6 separate regions of the Homo sapiens genome follow, and regions 1, 3, 4, 5 and 6 are each linked to region 2. The links are contacts of gene promoters, found by promoter capture Hi-C in blood cells and fetal thymus (Javierre and others, 2016). All regions are on one chromosome and are shown on one strand. The core of a region is centred on a gene start or on the middle of the fragment in contact, and the rest is flanking DNA. Distances in the headings are between cores, read along the strand shown. Region 1 overlaps LONP2 (lon peptidase 2, peroxisomal). Region 2 holds the start of DNAJA2 (DnaJ heat shock protein family (Hsp40) member A2). Region 3 overlaps ABCC12 (ATP binding cassette subfamily C member 12). Region 4 overlaps ABCC11 (ATP binding cassette subfamily C member 11). Region 5 holds the start of LONP2 (lon peptidase 2, peroxisomal). Region 6 overlaps LONP2 (lon peptidase 2, peroxisomal).

Region 1 (3,487 bases), core at 889-3,388, 1.3 Mb after region 2:
ATTTTGAAAGCAGGAAAGCTTTGAAGACAAAATAGAGCCAGTGGTGGAAAGGTTGAAGATGCTAGGAAGAAATTTTGTAATGTAGGAGATAAAATGGAATTTTTTTCAGTCACCAAATGGTAAGAAGTAATGTATTTCAAGAAAATAGTGGCTGCAATAGTAGCTCAAAGAAAGGTAATTCCTAGATGGTTTAATTATTTCTAGTATCCAGTTCCTTGAAATTTGTTTTCTCATGCAAGTATTATTGTAAGCATATACCAAAGAATCATGTCTACCTTACGTTGGTCTACTTCTGCAATTCTGCTGCCTCTCTGTATACAACTGCCTTTTGATTATCATTCTGAACTTCACTTCCTAAAGATAGAGACTGTAGTCATAAAAATATTTATTCAGCACCAGTCATAATCTTATGTGTACCTGGGTACTTCGTTTCCAATTTATTTTGACATACGGTTTTACTTTTCTGCTTTCTATGTTAGGTTATAGCAATACGCCCTATTAGGAGAATTACACATATCTCAGGTACTTTAGAAGATGAAGATGAAGATGAAGATAATGATGACATTGTCATGCTAGAGAAAAAAATACGAACATCTAGTATGCCAGAGCAGGCCCATAAAGTCTGTGTCAAAGAGATAAAGAGGTAAATTATAAAAGGCATTTGTTCATTATTGTTTTCATTCTTGGTACTCCTGATTAACACCACTTTCACTACTCTTTTCTCCAATACTGAGGATACATAATACAAATCTTCCACCTGCAGTGTGCTGTCAGGCAATATAACTCTTGCAGCTGCCTTTTTGTTGTCTGAAAGAACAGACCATGCTTCTTTGTTTATACGTAATGTTTGTTCAGTTAGCATCATATTCTTCACATGTGACTTTTCTTCTCTAGATTATAAACTCTCAAGGGCAAGGACTGTCCATTTCTCTTTGTACAAGACAAAGTACAGGGAAACCTTGATAACAGAATAGGATATATGGGTTGATTACATTTTCTGGATATCCCCAGTGTTAAACTGAAAGCCATTTTTCCTTTGCATACTTTTAACTTTATAACTCTTATTACATTTTCTTTTATTAGTGAATTGTAGTGAGCCTGCTTGAATGCTTAGTGACTTAATATTTGACTTTCTGAGGCTTACAGTTAAGAACATTAGTAATTGTAGTTGATGGGTATTTTATATTGCCTCTGACATTAGTTAATATATGTAGAACATTTATTATGTGCAGAACACTTTGCTAAGCATTGCATATATTATGGAAGTAGCATTTGTTATTAAATATATGATATTAGCTTGCTTTTATGAGCAGACCTCACTCATCTCTGATACAAAAAAAAATGTATTGTATTATGCATAGTTAGGCACTTACATCTTATTGTGATAAGTAAACCAATGGATATATGTCACTTGACTATCCCTGTGAGCTTAAAAGGGACACACACTAGTAAGGCCATATTTCCAGGTTAGAATTAGATATAATGTTTTCTCCTGCAGTTTGCAGGTATCTGCCTTATTTTGTTTTGTAAGTACCTTAAGTACTTAGAAAATATGAGAATACTTTGTAGAGAAAGCAGAGCAGAAGGGAAGAACCCCTCCCTGGTGGGACTCCAGAAGGGGCAGTTAAGTAGGCTGGGGAGAGAGATAGGAGTGGTGATCATTACATTACAAAACAAAATAAACGTTTTATTATCTGGATACTTTAAAACTTTTTCAGATTTGTTTAAACATGCATGATATATCTAACCAAGAAAGAGAGCTGTGTTTGATTTTTCTGTTATGGAATTTTTCTGTGTTCTTGAACATGTTTGCTGTGTATTCTTTCTCCACAGACTCAAAAAAATGCCTCAGTCAATGCCAGAATATGCTCTGACTAGAAATTATTTGGAACTTATGGTAGAACTTCCTTGGAACAAAAGTACAACTGGTAAGCCAAAAAATAACACCTGTTTTGCAGTCTAATTGTCACTCAGAAAGCTCATGCAATTTTTCATTTCAAATTTACTCCACTGATTGTCGTACTGTTAAATTATTTTTGTTTTCAATTTTTTTGAAACCATTTTATTGAAGTGTGATTGTCGTACAAAAAGCTGTATATAATTAATGAATACATCTCAGTGAGTTTCAGAATAAGTATACACCCATGAAACCATCACAATCTTCATAGCCATAAACATATCCGTCACCTCCAAAGTTTCCTCCTACCTCTTTTGTGATTATTATTATCATCATTATTATTGGCTTTTTTCTTTTGGTGCTGGTGGTAAGAACATTGAACATAAGGTCTAATGTTAAATTAACAATATTGTTAGCGATAGGCACTTTTCTTTATAGTAGATCTCTAGAACTTATTTATCTTGCATAAGTGAAACTTTGTTCCCTTTAACCATCACCTCCCATTTCCTTCTCCTCTCATCCTGTGGCAACTACTAGTCTACTCTCCATTTCTATGAGTTTCACTATTTTAGATTCCACATGCATTAAATAGGTGAAATCATACAGTACTTGTCTTTCTGTGTCTGGCTTATTTCACTTAGCATGATGCCCTCTAACCTAGAGGTCCATCCATGTTGTCACAGATGGCAAGATTTCCTTCTTTTTTAAGGTGCATAATATTCCATTGTGTGTCTATACCACATTTTCTTTATTCACTTATGTGTCAGTAGACATTTCAGTTATTTCCGTATCTTGGCTATTGTAAGTAATACTGCAGTGAATACGGAAGTGCAGATAACTCTTTGAGATCCTGATTTCAGTTCCTTTGGCTGTTTACCCAGAGGTGGCATTGCTGGATCATATGTAAGTTGTATTTGAACTTTTTTAGTAACTTCCATACTGTTTTCATAATGGCTGTTATCGGGGGACCTGCCCCAATAATCATGTAGGTTCTTTTCTATTTTCCTAAGCATTGGCTGGCTTGAGAAATAAAGAGACAGAGTACAAAAGAGAGAAATTTTAAAGCTGGGTGTCTGGGGGAGACATCACACGTTGGTAGGATCCGTGATGCCCCACAAGCCACAAAAACCAGCAAGTTTTTATTAGGGATTTTCAAAAGGGGAGGGAGTGTGCGAATAGGTGTGGGTGACAGACATCAAGTACTTAACAGGGTAATAGAATATCACAAGGCAAATGGAGGCAGGGCGAGATCACAGGACCACAGCTCCGAGGCGAAATTAAAATTGCTAATGAAGTTTCGGGCACCATTGTCACTGATAACATCTTATCAGGAGACGGGGTTTTGAGATAACGGATCTGACCAAAATTTATTAGATGGGAATTTCCTCTTCCTAATAAGCCTGGGAGCGCTATGGGAGACTGGAGTCTATCTCACCTCTGCAATCTCGACCATAAGAGACAGGTACGCCCCGGGGGGGCCAGTTCAGAGACCTACCCCTAGGTGCGCATTCTGTTTCTCAGGGACATTCCATGCTGAGAAAAAAGAATTCAGCGATATTTCTTCCATTTGCTTTTGAAAGAAGAGAAATA
Region 2 (3,296 bases), core at 682-3,181:
CTCTTATTCTAAAACTAAAATACTCTTGACATTATGAAAATGTGGCTGTGTGGGCATAGTTGGATTTTTTTCCTGCAACATTCCTCTTTTTCAAGGAGGGCAATTTAAGTTAAAGCTAAAACCCCCGGAATAAAAAAGGTGCAAATAACTTACTTTGTCTCCTGCATTTGGATTCTTATCAGGATGATATTCCTTGGCTAACTTTCTGTATGCCTTTGAAAATGGATAAAAACAAAAAAGGTTATAACTAAACACCAGTTAAAAGTTTTGTAATAACTTAATATCCACTTTTCTGAGAAGTAATGTTCTAGAGTTATAACCTTTCAAAAATATTTTCTATTCGTAGGGATTCTTCGGCACTTTCTCGCGATACTGTTTACTAATGTAATATAACCAAGTAGACAGCAGCTATACTTGAAAACAGGTTACAGTGACGTGAAAACCAGATAAAACAATGAAGCAATGCCACAGGGAAAAACAAAACGTTCAAACATTATCCATATTTTCCCTATTGTCAAGTGTCTTTGATGGCCAAGTAACCAGACCAAGACGACCCTAATAAATTCGAGATAAATGACTGTTAAGCTTTGCGGACTGCAAAACATTACTATAAATCAAGCTAAAGTCACAATTCCTGCTCCCGATGGCTCACGCCTTCCTTCTAACTGTAACATCATGAAAAAGTAAAGGTGGTCCTAGTTAGCGTCTTTTGGTGTTTTATTTGCACGTGGTGGTTAACTGGGGTCGTGGTGGCAACTTCGGTGGTAGAGAAGTTGCACACACTCTCAACGAGGTGTTTGGGTCCTAAAGCACTTAAATCTTCATTCACGGAGGCTCGTGAATTATATAATACAGACTAGCATTTCCGGTAAGGTAACAGGAAGTCCACTGTACTCTTCTCACTGCCTAAGGAGCATTCTCATTTTTCTCGGCTTACAAATCTGGATGCTCTTAGCCTGGTGAGGATGCTGTGGGGCTTAAATGCCTCGTGTGCTTTGAAATCCTGAGATGAAAGATATCGCAGCATTGCAAATAGCAATAATAAGGCCTTCTATTTATGTTTACTGTACACTCAGGCGTTTGGCTGGGACCACGGCTTATTCCTAAGCAGGTACAGGACATTAGCATTACCTGCCCAAAGAACAATGCATCCAAACACAGACCCAGCTACCTCCGGGTCAATGGGCGAGGGACGCAGAGAGGGAGGAGCTCCCGCAGCCGGCGGCCGCGGAACCCAGGAAACAACCCCATCCGCCCGAGGCGCTCTGTGGGGGCGGCCTCGACCTCCCCGCCGTTCCTCCCCGCGGAGCACCAGACCCGGGGCCGACGGCCGCGGGGCGGACAGCTTCTCTCTCGGGGCCGGGATGCGCTGAGCACCTCGGTCCAACCTGTTTTTCCGGGGTGGTGACCTCGACGCGAAGGACCGGGCGAGCTGCTGCCTCCCGGGGGATACCAGCCCCCGGCGCTCGTTCAAGGAGGGAGGAAGGAAGGGCTCCCATCGTGTTTGCGCAGGAGTGAGTTTTATTTGCTGCATCTGCGGGCGGGCGGGGCCGGCGGCCCCAAGGTCAGCCGAGGCCGGAGTGCGCGGCTCGCGGCGAGGCCGGTCCCGCCGCCGCCGCCGACTCCCAGCCCGGGCCAGTCACGGCCGGCGCCGGCTCGCGGGCAGCCCAGTAGCGCGGCCTGGCTGAAGAAGACATCCCTGGCCGCGCAGGCCCCGCGCCCCTCACACCCGCCCGGCCCGCTCCCAGATACCTTCTTCAGCTCGTTCTCGCTGGCGCCGGGCGGGACGCCCAGGATGTCGTACAGCTTCGTGTCAGCCACGTTAGCCATGGCGGCCGGCCGGGCAGTGCTCGGGGAGAAGGTGGCGAAGCAGACAGAGCGGAGTCGGGCCCACAAGCGGCGTCGGCGGCGGCACAGGCCGAGGGAGACAGCGAGGGGGAAGCGGGGGCGGGGCTGAACTTTGACCCAGCGCACGGTGCGCCGTGACGTCGCTGTGCAGAGCCCGCCCCCGAGCGCCCGAGGCGCGGCCACTGGGGTCGAAGTATTGAAGAGTGGGCCAGGTTCTCTGTTTTCCTCCAGGTCCAGGCGGCTGGGCAGGGCCAACGTAGGAAATGAAGAACTGTGCACGGCGCACCCCAGGAATTCAGCTTCCTCTCAAAAGCCATGGTTGCGAGGTCGCGTGTTTAACCTCGCACTGGCTGCTGAGGGAATTAACAGGCCTGCGCAGCAGCTTCGTTAGCTTCGAAAGAAAATGGGCCCCGGCTCCCGCAGGAGGCCCGCCTGGCGCGCAGATGTCGTTATTAGAATCCGGGACGTCGGTGGACCCTCTGGGTCTGGCTCCCTCGGGGCTTACGATGAAAAAAACTGGGGGGCGCGTGTGTGTGTATGTTGTGTTTTATATTATGAGAATTCTGAAACATTTAGCAGAAGCAGTATATTACTCCCCATAGTGCAGTTAGCTACCTTTTACCTGTTTCATTGGCTCCACCATACATTTCTAGTGTTTTAAGGGAAACCGTTTCATTCATAAATACCCTAAGTGTATATATTTAATATCTAAGAGACAACTTTTAAAGGCATAACGATGTAATCTCATCTAATGAAATTAACAATTCCTTAATCTAATTCCCAGTCCATATTTAGGTTTTTCAGATGATCTCATGTCCTTTTACAATTGGTTTGTGGCATCCGGGTCCAAACCAAGGTCCACATGTTGCATCTGGACCACGTGTTTAAGCCTCTTACTTGATAGCTTTAAAATTAGCTAACACCAGAGGTTTAGATGGTGTAAGGCAAGTCTGGCCACCAGGTGACTTGATTTACATTCGTTTTAGTTTCGCTCAGAAAGTATGCTGTGCATCTACCAAGTGCTATGATGTACAGAGGCCTGGTCCGGGGAGAGGAGTGTTACAAAAGTGCCTGCCTTCAACCCATTTACGGTTTATGGAGACAGAAAAGTAAGGTTTTCTGATCCCTTGGAACCTGAACTGATAGCAAAGACTTCAGCATAAGCATCTCACTCAGGATAATGTTTCTTCCTTGGCGTTCCCTTTGACCTAGTTGTGGAGGGCCTGAATTCCATGACAAGGACTCTGAAATTTAGCTTGAAAACCCTAAGAGTAATCAGTGATAAGTCATTAATAGTCCTTAAACCCTTTTCCTCAAATCCCATCTGAAATCCTGCTCCCTCTGTGAAGTCTTCCTTTACTGGGCACTGGTGAACACTGCTATCTCATTCGAGTTCCCACCACCCTTCGTTTGTACCTTTTGTGGTAGGATCTCGAACTCTTTTGTTT
Region 3 (3,397 bases), core at 16-2,515, 1.2 Mb after region 2:
CAACCAACAAATCATTATCAGAGCCTGCTATGTGCCAAGCACTGTTCCAACCACCAGCAAGAACAGCAATGAACACAACAGGCAATGGCCTGAGTCTACCCTCATAGAACTTACCTTGTAGTCAGGGGAAGATGGACAGGAAGCAAGACAAGCAAATGAAATGTGGGGCAGGCACATCTATGCTTGCCATGGAGAAAAATAAAGCAGGGAAGAGACAGGGAAGGGACAGGGAGTGGGCTAGAGGCTTGGGGGTACAAGGAAAGCCTTACTGGAAAGGTAGATGTCTTAGCTTGAGTTTTCCCAGAAACAGACCTTGAATCAAGGATTTGAATGAAAGTCACACTCACATTTGGAAGGTGCAGGAAATTCCAGTAGGGAAGAGGAGAAGTGATACAGGAAAGGGAAGGTGGCCCATAAAGGGCAGCCTATTGGGTTGGCTCCCTAACAGAATATCCTACACAGGAGGCAAACGGAACTCAACCCTGCAGGGAAACTGCAGGAAACTCTGGGGAACTGACTATAGCTTTGTCCCACCCAATGGCAGAGGAGGTGGGGTATTGATGCCCCAGCAGTCATTGTTTGAGGGCTGCTCTCTAGTCTGTGAAGGTCTTTATGGAGGTGTGCAGAGCCCTTGGGCACGGATGCAGATAAGGCAGTTGTAAGATGGCCAGGAAACACTTAGAGGTCCAGGGCACATGGGCAGGGACAACATCTGCCACAGGTGACATTTGGGTAAGACGTGAAGGAGGTGAGGAAGGGTGCCATGGGGTATCTGGGGAGAATCATTGCAGGCAAACAGCCCATGTGGAGACTGACGTGTAAGCATGTCCACTCATGTTCAAGCAGATATTGCAATACTGCACTTGGAGCATCTGAGAACATTCTCATGTAGGCCTGCTCCCTGCAATCCCTTAGGGCAAAGATGCCCAACATGGGGCCAAATATGGCTTTTTTCCCACCCCAAGCTAGACCAGAAACGCCCATCCCCTGTCTGCCATTCTCAGCACATGAGAGTCGCTGCCTGTCATCAATAATTCCTTAAACAAGGTCTTTGCTGAATCCCAGGCACCTTGGGATAAAATAGTGATCCACACAGAGGTCTCCCTGCCTTTGTGGAGCCCACATGGATGTAAATTTGGTTGGCTGAGTGCAACTGAGTTCAGATTTCAGTTAAGTCCCACTGAGTGCCACCTACTTTGCCTTCTCGCCACTCTCCCGGTGGAGCACCTGACTTCCCCCATGCTGCATTCCCATTTGCCTCCAAGAGGCCTCCGTGAACTTCCTGTGTTCTAAGGACTTTCTGGCCACACAATGACTTTGCTAATGGCTATTCCATATGTCAGTGACTCTGGAATTCCTGCCTCATGAAATGAAGCTGAATCTATTTAATTCCCCTAAAAGGACTTCAATGAACCGGGGCATTAAAGAGACCGCAGATGTGATGCAGCCTCACCAGGTATTTGGCTGCCCTTTGAGTCCTATCCACTTCTTGGGGCCAAGTAAGAAGCCTTCTAGATTCATCCTTGTCTTTAGCAGAAAATCCATGAGGCCTGTATCCTCTGATGATTCTCCCAACAAACACTGCTGGCCACCTCCAAGCCAGGAGCTGGGCTTCGGGATAACGACATAACTGTGAACAAAAAACCCTGACCCCATGGAGGATCCAGTCTGATGGAATTGAGGAGCTAAACTTGGAAAAACCTGGATGCCCTGTAGAACACTTGAGGGCAGCACTTAAGCTGGACATAATTGTTAAAGAAAAAGGCAACAATCATACCTAACATCAGCTAAGACTTACTATGGGCTTAGCATTTTTATGTGGTATCTGAGTTCCCCCACCACCTTGTGAAATGGGTACTTCTATGAAATGCATGGTGCTGGTAAAGAAACAGAGGCTTAGGGAGCTTCAGCAAGACATCCAAGGTCAAGCAGCTAGGAAGTGGCTGGGCCTGGAACTGGGGTCCCTCAGGCTCCAGAGGCATTGCATTGCCCCCACTGCTCCAGAGGCAACAATGCATTGCCCCCACTTTATCTTCAATTTATTCCACAAAACATTGACTGCATCCTTGAGGCAGGAATTCCAGAGTCACCGACATATGGAATAGCACATTAGCAAAGCCATTGCGTGGCCAGAAAGCAGCGTCCTTAGAACACGGGAAGTTCACGGAGGCCTCTTGGAGGCACATGGGAAGGCAGGGCGGGGGGAAGTCAGGTGCTCCACGGGGAGAGTGGCGAGAAGGCAAAGTAGGTGGCACTCATGGGACTTAGCTGAAATCTGAGCTCAATTGCACTCAGCCAACTAAATATCGTTTCCAATGAATACGTGGCAGACAGCTTTGTTAGCTATGAGAGGTACCACTCTCACACCAGCTATTGAGCTTGACATTGCATAATAAATAAGAACCTCTCCTTCTATAGCGCTTGCACAGGGAAAGAGTGAGTCAACAGGATGAGAGATTAAAATACCAGGCACAAGATTAATGTTGAGCCCTCTGCAGCAAAATCAACACTGCCACCCTGGGAGTCTGCTGCTGAGTTCCCAGAGCAAGAAGGAGATGCATGCAGGAGATGCAGGAAGAGGCCAAACATTCCCTAAACCCACAGCGTTGCCTGAAATCTCCATCCCCCAATCTTGAGGGGAGAGAACAACAAACAGACTCTGGCTGGCTTGGCTGGCTTAGCCCTTGGCTGGGTTGCTTGTTATCTCAGTTTGCTTTTTACAAGAGGAGTTTTTGCCGGTGGTTAAGAGCCCAGACTCTGCAGCCAGGTGCCCTGGGTATGAAACCCTCCTCTGCCACTTGCTAGCTATGTGACCTTGGGCAAGCTATTTAACCCTCTTGTGCCTTAGGCTCCTCAACCATCAAGTAGGGGCAGTTATGATGCCTGGTTATTGAAGTGGTTAAGTGAGTTTATTATGTACCTGGTAAATAGTAGTGTTCAAAATTATCAGTCATTATCATCTATCATAATATTCCAATGTGAAATTAAGAACATATCTAGGACAGGAGCAGTGGTTCATGCCTGTAATCTCAGCACTTGACCCAGGAGGCCAAGACAGGAGAATCACTTGAGGCCAGGAGTTCGAGCCTGGCCTAGGAAACATAGCAAGACCCCATCTCTACAAAAAATAAAATAAAATTTAATTTAAAAATTATCCCGCTTTCCCCTGGTAAATAAAAAATTTTAAAAAATTATCCGGGCATGGTGATATATGCTTGTAGTACCAGCTACTTGGGAGGCTGAGGCAGGAGGATCACTTGAGCCCAGGAGTTTGAGGCCGCAGTGAGTTCTGATTGCACCACTGCACTCCAGCCTGGGCAAAAGAGTAAGACCCTGTCTCACACACACAAAAAGAGAACAAATCAAAAAAGATTTATGAAACCTAGTCAGTTCAAGC
Region 4 (3,381 bases), core at 811-3,310, 1.2 Mb after region 2:
TTTCCATGTCAATCACAACCTGTACTGTTATTTGATTAGTATTATTATTTTACTTGCTTTGTTTGAGAATGTATATTAAAAGAAACTTTAATCACAACCTTAAATTATATAAATAATGGGTTTGATATGTTAGTTGCATTTTTTCTAAAGTACATTCAAATAAACCTTTGATTATTGAAATTAAATATTCATTTACTCATCAACTAAAACCATCTTACCATCTGAGTGGGCTATCACCCCAGCAGAGTGGCCCTTCTGACTCACTCTGTCCATACCCTCTGAACCTTTGCATAAGACATTCCAAATTCTGTCCACCTTACCTTTCTATACTGATTGAGTCACCTCCACCTTGAGGCCTTCCCAGATTAAACACAACAGACCCTGGTCACTCTGTGGCCCCTGTGCTCAAGCCACCTTGCTATCCTTCAAACCTACTTCCCCCATCTCATGGTCTTTGCATTTACTGTCCCCTCTGCCTGGAGAGCTCCTACCCACATATTTCCATAGCTCAACCCACACTTCATCTCAGGGTCCTTTTCTCTGACACCTTCCCCAACAACAGCTCCAATCCCTCCAGACTCTCTTCATCTGCTTATCTTAGTATATACCTTGGGGCAGGGTTCTCAGTGTGGGCTGAATGAATGCACCGCTCCAGGATCCCCTCAGTCCTAGAGTCTGCACAGACCTTGAGTGGTCTATAATGCCACTGAGAGAGCAGGTGCCACAATTAATCCAATATTCCAGCTAACTGAGCACATACCGTCTCCCAAATGTGTGCCCAAGTCTTACCCAGGCTTCAAGGCCAGCTCAGATGCCACCTCCTCCCGAAAGCCTTATCTGATTCCCCCAGGCCACCTCCTTCCCCTCTGAATTCCCAAGCAGTTTATCTGCCCCTCTCTTATGCTATCTACCTTCTTCAATCACGTATAATTACAAAAACATGTGCCTGTTTCTCCCTTTTTCCACCAGACTATGAACTTCTTGTAGGTGAAGACCGTGCTTGATTATTCTCTACAAACAGATAAGTTCGTGTTACACCATTAAACCTCAACAACAATCACAGGACTTGTTTGCTTGTTTGTTTCAACATTTAGGGGGCAAATCTATGGCATGAGTAGTGAAGGAAGTTCTATTATTTAGAAAGCTATTGTTCCTCATTATTTTGTTAAAGATAGATATTTGTTTGGAAGTGAAAGAAATAACATAATGCAAGATGTGTTTGCACAGTAATGCACCTTATCATTAAATGTATGTATACATATGTCCATATATATATACACAATATATACAAGGTCTTTAAAGTTTACAAACATTTTTCCTATCATTTACATTTTTCATTCTTATAAATGAAAGAATGGTTCAGCAGGTTCTGGAGGCTCAGAGAAATACGTCCATCGAACAATGTGCTCTCTGATGCTTTTGAAGATGATGCCACTCCCAGACGCTCCATTCTTTCCCTGCTCCCCACCACCCCTGTGGTTCCATCATTCTCAAATGGCAGCAGAAGGACTCACTGGCTGATGAAGTCTTCAGTTTTTCCATAGACATGGATGGAGCTCAGGCCTTGCAGAGAATTGAGGATGTGGGAGAATAAAGGAGACCGGCTATAGTTCTCCAGTCTCTTGAACACACCGATGGCCTTCTTGAACATCCTGCATGGACAGTGGAGGTAAGGGACCTGGACCGTCCACCTCTGGGACCATCTAGTCTGGGTTGGTCCCAGCCTTGCTCCCCAAGTCACAAGCAAAAAGAACCTACTCACATATAATAAATGAAGCAAATAACCATGATTATGGCTCCCATTAACAGGATATATGGAGACAGCACACTGACAATCAACAGGACGGCGATCACCATTAAGGACAGGACCAGGAACTGCTCTGAAAAGATGGGCAAGAGCTGGTCCAGCTGTTCCAAGTCCCCTGCGAAGCAGTTCAAAAGCCGGCCTATTGGGATGGTGTCAAAGAAACTCATGGGGCAGCGGAAAACCTGCAGGGACAAAATCAACGCAGACCATGAGAGAAGCTGCAGGCCCTGCTCAAGATTGGATGAAGATGCCTGTTACCCTTGACTCTAAAGAGCCACGGATCCCAGGGGTCTCCAGGGCAGGCAATGTAGAGCAATGATTTAAAAGCATGGATGGGCTCCACGGCTACCTGACTCCTCCACCTACTGCTGTCTGACCTCGGGCAAGTACTGAGTTCCTCTGAGTCTCAAGGTCCTCGTTAGCGAAATGGGAATGAAAACGATGCTTCACAGAGTTGTAGTGAGGATCACACAACTCCTCAAATATACTAAACACTGAAGTGTATAATTAAAAGGCTGAATGTATGGTATATGAATTATATCCTGTAAAGCTATTAGAGAGAGAGAGAATACATTAAAAATGCTCAGAGCAGTGCCTGCCCCTGAGGTAGGAGGTGAGACTTGACTCTGGAGGCAGGGTTTGAACGCCAGACCAAATTGAGGACTAGCTAAAACAGGGGTGGGGTGGAAGCCACTTTCCATAAGACAGGCCCACCAGTGTGTCGTGTCAGTTTACCATTCCCATGGCAACACCCAGGAGTTACCGCCTCTTTCTGGGTCATCAATGACTTGATGACTTGGAAGTTGCCACCCTTTTCCTAGAAACTTCTGTATAAACTGTCCCTTAATCTACATGTAATTAAAAGTAGGTATAAATATGACTGCAAACCTGCCCTGAGCTGCAGCTCTCAGCACACTGCCTACGGGGTAGCCCTGCTCTGCAGGGTCAGTCACAGAGCTGCAACACTGCCAGAACTGCAACAGTGACACTTCAGTAAAGCTGTTTTCTTCTACCCTACCACTGGCTTGCCCTTGAATTCTTTCCTGGGCAAAGCCAAGAACCCTCATGGACTAAGCCCCAGTCTGGGGTTTACCTGCCCTCCATCACCCCCAGTAGGGCATTCTACCAATACCAGCTCTTATTATTTTCTACAGATGGGACCATTTTCACTCAGGACTGCCAAAGATTAGGAGCAGCAATCCTACTGGGTTGCACACGATTTGGACCCTTGGATCAAATTTAGCCTTAACTGCCCCCTTCTTGAGGGTGGCACCTGCAAGTTGATCTCTAACAGCCAGTGGCCATGAGGCCTTTCGGAGATCAAAGGACATGTCAAACCACAAGGTAGGCTCTAACAAAAGCATTTAGTTTGGTGTCCTTGTTTTGCAGATGAGGAAACTGAAGATTGCAGAAGAGGAAGTGGCTCTGTAACTTACTCATTACGCAAGTGGTTAATGGCAAAACCATGATCCAATTAGGCCTTCTGAGGCTTCCCCAAGCCTGGCACAGTCACTCTTCACAGAAGGCAATTTCTTAAAGGTTCATGGCACTGACCAAATGACCACCTACATTTC
Region 5 (3,591 bases), core at 353-2,852, 1.3 Mb after region 2:
ATGGAATACTATGCAGCCATAAAAAAGGATGAGTTCATGTCCTTTGTAGGGACATGGATGATGCTGGAAACCATCATTCTGAGCAAACTATCGCAAAGACCGAAAACAAAACACTGCAAGTTCTCACTCATAGGTGGCAACTGAACAATGAGAACACTTGGACACAGGGTGGGGAACATCACACTCAGGGGCCTGTCGTTGGGTGGTGGGGAGTGGGGGGGAAGGGATACCATTAGGAGATATACCTAATGTAAATGACGAGTTAGTGAGTGCAGCAAACCAACATGGCACATGTATACATATGTAACAAACCTGTACGTTGTGCACATGTACCCTAGAACTTAAACTATAATAAAAAATAAAATTAAATTAAAAACAGAAAAAAAATAAAAGTATCAAGGTTGTAAAAAAAAAAAAAATTGGACGGGCGCAGTGGCTCAGGCCTGTAATCCCAGCACTTTTGGGAGGCCAAGGCGGGCAGATCACGAGGTCAGGAGATTGAGACCATCCTGGCTAACATGGCGAAACCCCGTCTCTACTAAAAATACAAAAAATTAGCCGGGCGTGGTTGCGGGTGCCTGTAGTCCCCAGCTACTCGGGAGGCTGAAGCAGGAGAATGGCATGAACCCGGGAGGCGGAGCTTGCAGTGAGCCGAGATCTCGCCACTACACTCCAGCCTGGGTGACAGAGCGAGACTCCGTCTCAAAAAAAAAAAAAAAAAAAAAAAATTGAGGACTTGCCACAGATTAGAGAACACCTAGGAGATTTCATAACAAAACACCTAGGAGATTTCACAACAGGATCCTGGATATTGGATCCTGGACCAGATCCAATGAAGGACATTAGTGGGAAAACTGGCAAAATTTGGGTAAGGCCTATAGGTTAAACGATAATAATGTTAATTTCCTGGTTTTGATCATTGAACTATGATTATGTAAGATGATAACAGACGAAACTGGGTGAAAGGTATATAGGAACTCTGCTGTAGTTTTGTACATCTAAAATCAATTCGGGCCGGGCACGTTGGCTCACGCCTGTAATCCCAGCACTTTGGGAGGCCGAGGTGGACGGATCGCTTGAGGTCAGGAGTTAAAGACCAGCCTGGCCAACATGGTGAAATCCCCTCCCTACTAAAAATACAACAATTAGCTGGGTGTGGTGGCGGGCATCTGTAATCCCAGCTACTCGGGAGGCTGAGGCAGGAGAATCGCTTGAACCCGGGAGGCAGAGGCTGCAAGCCGTGGGTATCGCGCCATTGCACTCCAGCCTCCGCGACAGAGCGAGAATCTGTCTCAGAATAAATAAATAAATAAATAAATAAATAATTAGTTCGAATCAAAAGTTAAAAACACTTCAAGTATATGTAAAAAATCGAAGAAAACGTTAAAAACACTTCAAGTATATACAATTCAAATAAGATCATCCTTCCAAATATACTCTGTAAGTGAGGCGAAGGTCGCTGCACGCTTGAGTGCACGTCTTTCCGCATAGGTAGGACGCTCAAGTCTTACCGGGAGGCTCTCCTAGAGAGCAGCGCGAAGCCATGGCTTTTGGGCCCGGGGACGGACCGTAGCGCGTAGCCGGAAGCGGAGGCGTGGAGGCGGGTCTGAGGTTTGGTGACTGCGGGGCAGGCCGGGGGCAGCTGTCTGTCTGGCTCTTTTTGACAGCCCCCAGTGCGAAAGGCTGCCAGCATGTCATCAGTGAGCCCCATCCAGATCCCCAGTCGCCTCCCGCTGCTGCTCACCCACGAGGGCGTCCTGCTGCCCGGCTCCACCATGCGCACCAGCGTGGACTCGGCCCGCAACCTGCAGCTGGTGCGGAGCCGCCTTCTGAAGGGCACGTCGCTGCAAAGCACCATCCTGGGCGTCATCCCCAACACGCCTGACCCCGCCAGCGACGCGCAGGACCTGCCGCCGCTGCACAGGTAGGCCTGGCTGCCCCCGCGGCGGCGGCGGGCGGCGCGGCCTCCTCCGGGGACCTGGGCCCAGGCCACGGCCTGCCTTGAGCGCGAGGCTCAGTTCGGGGCGGCCTTCGCGGCTCGGTTCCGCCTCTCTGGTGCTATCACTTGCAAAATGGGGATGTCAGATACCTGCCCCATGACCATGAATGAGATCGTTCATGAAGTAGTGCCTGACACCTGGTGAAACTACGCAGTTCCCTACCGTTCTGGATAATTTAATTTGAATCCTCTTCCCCCTCTCCGCAATTCCTCGCCCTCGGTCTTCAGCCTCCTAGGCCAGTGCTTTTAACTTTCCAGGCCCTTTCTTTCTCCCCGGTGATCTCTGCCTTCACTTGCCTTCGCTTTTCACCTTTCTCCCCACTGCCCTTTACTCCTATCCGCCTCCCCTTTTCTGTCACCCATCATTTTTGTCCGCTGAGGCATTCTCTGCTCCGTGAGTTTTAACTTTTCCTGTTTCATTCCTAAACTGCACTATTTGTGGGTGCCTTTCTTCTATACTCCCTGCCACCCTTCTCCTTCTCCCCCTAATCCTTCTGTTTCCCTTTGTAAAGGGCCTTTACTGCTCACATTTTCGCTGGTCCCCCTTTCTGGAACTTTCCTAGCTTCTCACCTCTGCTCCTTCACTCATAACATTTCTTAGGCCCCAGGCTTACTACTATATTGCCCAGTACCCTCGCCCTATTGGTGTGACTTTGGGTGAGAGCTTTAACCTCTATTTCTTTTATTCTGCAATTTGGAAACTGACAGCATCCATCTCTTAGGCAAGTTATGAAGAATAAATTGAATAATGTGTATATTCCACTTTGCACCATGCATGATGGATGACTTTGCTGTCCAGTACTGTGTAGTGCATGTGGCTCGTCAAATTGAGATGATAGAATTGCCAGTTGTCCTGGTTTGCTGCGATTGTCTGTTTTAGCATTGAAAGTCCTATGTTTTAGCCCCTCCGTCCCAGGGAAACCAGGAGGTTGGTCACCCTAAATGTGCTGTAAGTGTACAATACACGCCAGATTTTGAAAAAACTTTTTGATTAATACATTTTATATGGATTAAATGTTGGAAAGGTAATATTTTGAGTACTTGGGGTTAATAAAATGTTAAGATTTCTGCTGTTTTTACTTTATAATGTGGCCACTAAAATTTTATATGTGGTCCACATTATATTTTTATTGGACAATGCTGGTATATCGTATGCTCTCAACAAGTATCTTCAAACTCACCTGCCAAGCACCCGCCTCCTATTCCTAACTCTACTGGAGGTGTTGTGTTTTCAGTTTAGAGCTTCTCCTTTCCTGGCAGTTATCCCTTATTTTTAAATTAGGGGTTCCTGACTCTGAATGGATTTCCGGAGGGTTGGACATGTCTTATTTTTCCTCAAAATCTTGTGACTATGTACATTTTTTTAGGAGAATCCTTTGCTTTCTTCAGATTCTCAAAGGAGACTGGTACCTCCCCCCACCCCCGTTAAAAGAAAGCAAAACAAAGCAACAAAGACCAACAAACCTTCCACAGCAGCCCAGTATTCATTTATATTGTAAAAGCCTTGATTTTCTCAAGCATGGAAAATATTTTGGCTCCCATCTGACCTGCTTTGGTTATTGCCTGAGTGGAATTGGTCACATTCCAAGTTT
Region 6 (3,196 bases), core at 68-2,567, 1.3 Mb after region 2:
CTTATTGCTGATATGAAGAAAGTTTTAGTGGTCTGGATAAAAGATTAAGCCAACTACAACATTCCCTTAAGCCGAAACCTAGTCCAGAGCAAGGCCCTAAGGCTCTTCAGTTCTATGAAAGCTGAGAGAGGTGAGAAAGCTGCAGAAGAAAAATTTGAAGCTAACAGAAGTTGGTTCATGAGATTTAAGGCAAGAAGCCATTTCTACAACATAAAGTGCAAAGGGAAGCAGCAAGTACTGATGTATTGTAGAAGCTGCATCATGTTATCTATCCAGAACATCTAGCTAACATCATTGATAAAGGTGGCTACACTAAAAAACAGATTTTCTATGTAGATGAAACAGCCTTATTTTGTATTGGAAGAAGTGTCATTTAGGACTTTCATGGCTAGAGAAGTCAGTACCTGGCTTCAAAGCTTCAAAGGGCAGGCTAACTCTTGTTAGGGGCTAATGCAGCTGGTGACTTTAAGATGAAGCCAGTGCTCATTGACCATTCTGAAAACCCTAAGGCCCTTAAGAATGATGCAAAATCTACTCTGCCTTTGTTCTGTAAATGGAACAACAAAGCCTAGGTGACAATGCATCTGTTTATAGCATGGTTTTACTAAGTACTTTAAGCCCACTGTTGAAACTTACCGTTCAAAAAAAATAGATTCTTTTGAAAATATTACTGCTCGTTGTCAATGCTTCTGGTCACCCAAGAGCTGTGATGGAGATGTACAAGGAGATTAATACTGTTTTCATTCCTTATAAAACAACATCCATTCTGCAGCCCATGGATCAAGGAGTTATTTTAACTTTCAAGTCTTATTATTTAAGAAACACATTTTTTAAGGCTATTGCTCCCATAGATTATGATTCGTCCCATGCATCAGGGCGAAGTACATTGAAAACCCCTAGAAAAGATTCACCATTCTAGATGCCATTAAGAACATTCATGATTCACGGGAGGAGGTCAAAATATCAACATGAACAGGAGTTCAGGAAGAGTTGATTCCAGCCCTCATGGATGACTTTGAGGGGTTCAGACTTCAGTGGAGGAAGTTACCGCAGTTGTGGTAGAAATAGCAAGAGAACTAGAATTAGAACCCAAAGATGTGACTGAAATACTGCAATCTCATGGTAAAACTTGAACAGATGAGGAGTTGCTTCTTACAGATGAGCAAAGAAAGCGGGTTTCTTGAAATGGAATCTAGTCCTGGTGAGGATGCTATGAACCTTGTTGAAATGACAACCTTGATGTTGTGAACCTTGTTGAAATTCTAAACAAGATTTAGAATATTACATAAACATAGTTGATAAAGGCAGCAACAGGGTTTGAAAGGATTGACTTCAATTTTGAAAGAAATTCTACGGTGGGCAAAATGCTATCGAATAGCAATGCAGGCTATAAGAAATTGTTTCATGAAAGGAAGAGTCAATAGATGAAGCAAATTTTACTGTTGCCTTATTTTAAGAAATCGCCACAGCCACCCTAACTTTCAGCAGCCACCACCTGATCAGTCATCAACCATTAATATTGAGACAAGACACTCCACCAGCAAAATGACAACAACTAACACTGAAGACTCAGGTGATTAGCATTTTATAGCAAGAAAGTATTTGTTAATTAAGGCATGTACATTGTTTTTTAGACATAATGCTATTGCACACTTAATAGACTATAGTATATTGTGTAAACATAACTTTTATATGCACTGGGAAACAAAAAAAAACATACATGTGACTCACTCTGTTGCAAAATTTGCTTTATTGCAGTGGTCTGGAACTGAACCCACAGTGTCTCTGAGGTATACCTGTATTGAGGAGGGGTTGCAAATTTTAGCACATAGGCAAATTTGCAAATATGGAATAATAAGGATCAACTGTAATTACTGCTTTATGCCATTATCTTTTAAATCAGATAAGAAAAAGTTACGTCAACAATATATTTACACTGCCTTTTATGTTTGCAATGTAATCACTTCTGCCAGTGCGCTCTATTTCTTTGTGTGGATACTGTCTAGTGTCCTTAAACTTCAGTCTTTCATATTTCTTGTCTCATCTCCTGGTGACATATTCTCAGTTTTTGTTTTTCTGGGAATGTCTTAATTTCTCCTTCATTTTTGAAGTAATTTTGTTGGTATAGAATTTGGGTTGACAATTGTTTGCTTTCAGCCCTTTCGCATGTCCTCTCACCACTTTCTGGTCTCTGTGGTTTCTGCTGTGAAGCCAGCTGTTAAGCTTGTGGCGGATCTCTTATGCCTAATGAGGGCAGCATTTTTCTCTCATAGTTTTCAGTATTCTCTCTTTGTCTTTCATTTCTGACAGATTGACTGTGTTTATGTGTGATCCTCTGAGTTTACTTAGTTCTTTTTGAGCTTCTTGGATGTGTAGGTAAATGTTTTTCATCAAATTTGAGAAGTATGTGGCCAGTATTTCTTCAAATATTCTTTATGCCCCTTTCTTTTTCCTCTCCTTCTGAAACTCGTATTATGGTGTGTTGGTAATCTTTGTGGAGTCCCGTAGGTCTCTAAAGTGCTGTTCACTTTTTTTAAAGCCTTTTTTCTTTCTATTCTTCAGACAGGATCATCTCAGTTGACCTGTCTTCAAGTTCATTGATTCTTTCTTCTGCCAGCTGAAATTGTCATTCAGCCCCTCTAGTGAATTTTTCATTCAAATTACTGTAGTTTTCAACTCCAAAATTTCTATTTTAAAATTTTTATTATTTATCTTTGTTTATATTCTCTATTTGTCAAGACATCATTCTCATACTTTCCTGTAATTCTTTAGACATGATTTCCTTTAGTTTTTTTAAATGTTAGTAAATATAACAGAAAAAGTCCCATTTTTACCACTTTTATGTGTACAGTTCAGTAATGTTAAGCACATTCGCATTGTTGTGCAGCCAATCTCCAGAACTTTTTCATCTTGTTAAAGTGAAGGTGTATACTCATTACACAGCAATTCCCTGTTTCTTTCTCCCTCCCTCAGTCCCTGGCAGCTACCATTCTCTTTTCTGTTTCTATGAGTGACTACTCTATATACCTCATATAAGTGCATCATACGGTACTTATCTTTTTATAATTGACTGACTTCACTTAGTTTCCTCAAAGTTCATCAATGTTGGGGCATTAGTTTTTTAAGCATATTTATAGTAGCTGATTTGTAATCTTTTTTTTTTTTTTTTTGAGACGGAGTCTCACCATGTTGCCCA

What was found. The method cuts DNA at HindIII sites, captures the fragments that hold promoters and counts their contacts. A CHiCAGO score of 5 or more calls a contact.
Region 1: a contact is called between a fragment that was not itself captured here and the fragment with the promoter of DNAJA2 in region 2, in 1 of 17 cell types (non-activated CD4 T cells). The highest score is 6.2, in non-activated CD4 T cells.
Region 3: a fragment that was not itself captured here is called in contact with the fragment with the promoter of DNAJA2 in region 2 in 1 of 17 cell types (endothelial precursors); the score reaches 6.5 in endothelial precursors.
Region 4: a fragment that was not itself captured here is called in contact with the fragment with the promoter of DNAJA2 in region 2 in 6 of 17 cell types (M1 macrophages, monocytes, neutrophils and 3 more); the score reaches 13.0 in M1 macrophages.
Region 5: a contact is called between the fragment with the promoter of LONP2 here and the fragment with the promoter of DNAJA2 in region 2, in 1 of 17 cell types (naive CD8 T cells). The highest score is 7.3, in naive CD8 T cells.
Region 6: a fragment that was not itself captured here is called in contact with the fragment with the promoter of DNAJA2 in region 2 in 1 of 17 cell types (total CD8 T cells); the score reaches 5.7 in total CD8 T cells.

The regions. Positions count from the first base shown.
Region 1 is chr16:48,260,945-48,264,431 of GRCh38, forward strand. LONP2 (lon peptidase 2, peroxisomal) reads left to right here. Exons shown (of 15, transcript NM_031490.5): 5 at 480-643; 6 at 1,834-1,928. Among named protein-coding and RNA genes, the nearest start is that of ABCC11, 15 kb to the left of the region's middle. The HindIII fragment of the contact is 4,245 bases long and covers 17-3,487 here.
Region 2 is chr16:46,971,743-46,975,038 of GRCh38, forward strand. It overlaps DNAJA2 (DnaJ heat shock protein family (Hsp40) member A2), which reads right to left and starts at 1,932. Exons shown (of 9, transcript NM_005880.4): 1 at 1,753-1,932; 2 at 154-213. The coding sequence starts at 1,830. DNAJA2-DT (DNAJA2 divergent transcript) reads left to right here and starts at 2,030. Exons shown (of 2, transcript NR_186372.1): 1 at 2,030-2,383. RefSeq lists silencers at 804-883, 1,234-1,303, 1,334-1,383, 1,534-1,613, 1,644-1,693 and enhancers at 2,124-2,193, 2,254-2,343. The HindIII fragment of the contact is 5,496 bases long and covers 584-3,296 here.
Region 3 is chr16:48,124,779-48,128,175 of GRCh38, forward strand. All of the region lies in intron 11 of ABCC12 (ATP binding cassette subfamily C member 12), which reads right to left. Among named protein-coding and RNA genes, the nearest start is that of ABCC12, 30 kb to the right of the region's middle. The HindIII fragment of the contact is 4,858 bases long and covers 1-3,397 here.
Region 4 is chr16:48,185,439-48,188,819 of GRCh38, forward strand. ABCC11 (ATP binding cassette subfamily C member 11) reads right to left here. Exons shown (of 30, transcript NM_001370497.1): 21 at 1,763-1,989; 22 at 1,515-1,652. Among named protein-coding and RNA genes, the nearest start is that of ABCC12, 31 kb to the left of the region's middle. RefSeq lists a silencer at 3,000-3,294. The HindIII fragment of the contact is 4,577 bases long and covers 1-3,381 here.
Region 5 is chr16:48,242,698-48,246,288 of GRCh38, forward strand. LONP2 (lon peptidase 2, peroxisomal) reads left to right here and starts at 1,603. Exons shown (of 15, transcript NM_031490.5): 1 at 1,603-1,924. The coding sequence starts at 1,692. The region is part of intron 1 of ABCC11 (ATP binding cassette subfamily C member 11); the gene reads right to left. RefSeq lists an enhancer at 1,539-1,628. The HindIII fragment of the contact is 24,694 bases long and covers 1-3,591 here.
Region 6 is chr16:48,282,990-48,286,185 of GRCh38, forward strand. The region is part of intron 8 of LONP2 (lon peptidase 2, peroxisomal); the gene reads left to right. Among named protein-coding and RNA genes, the nearest start is that of ABCC11, 37 kb to the left of the region's middle. RefSeq lists an enhancer at 273-799. The HindIII fragment of the contact is 1,807 bases long and covers 415-2,221 here.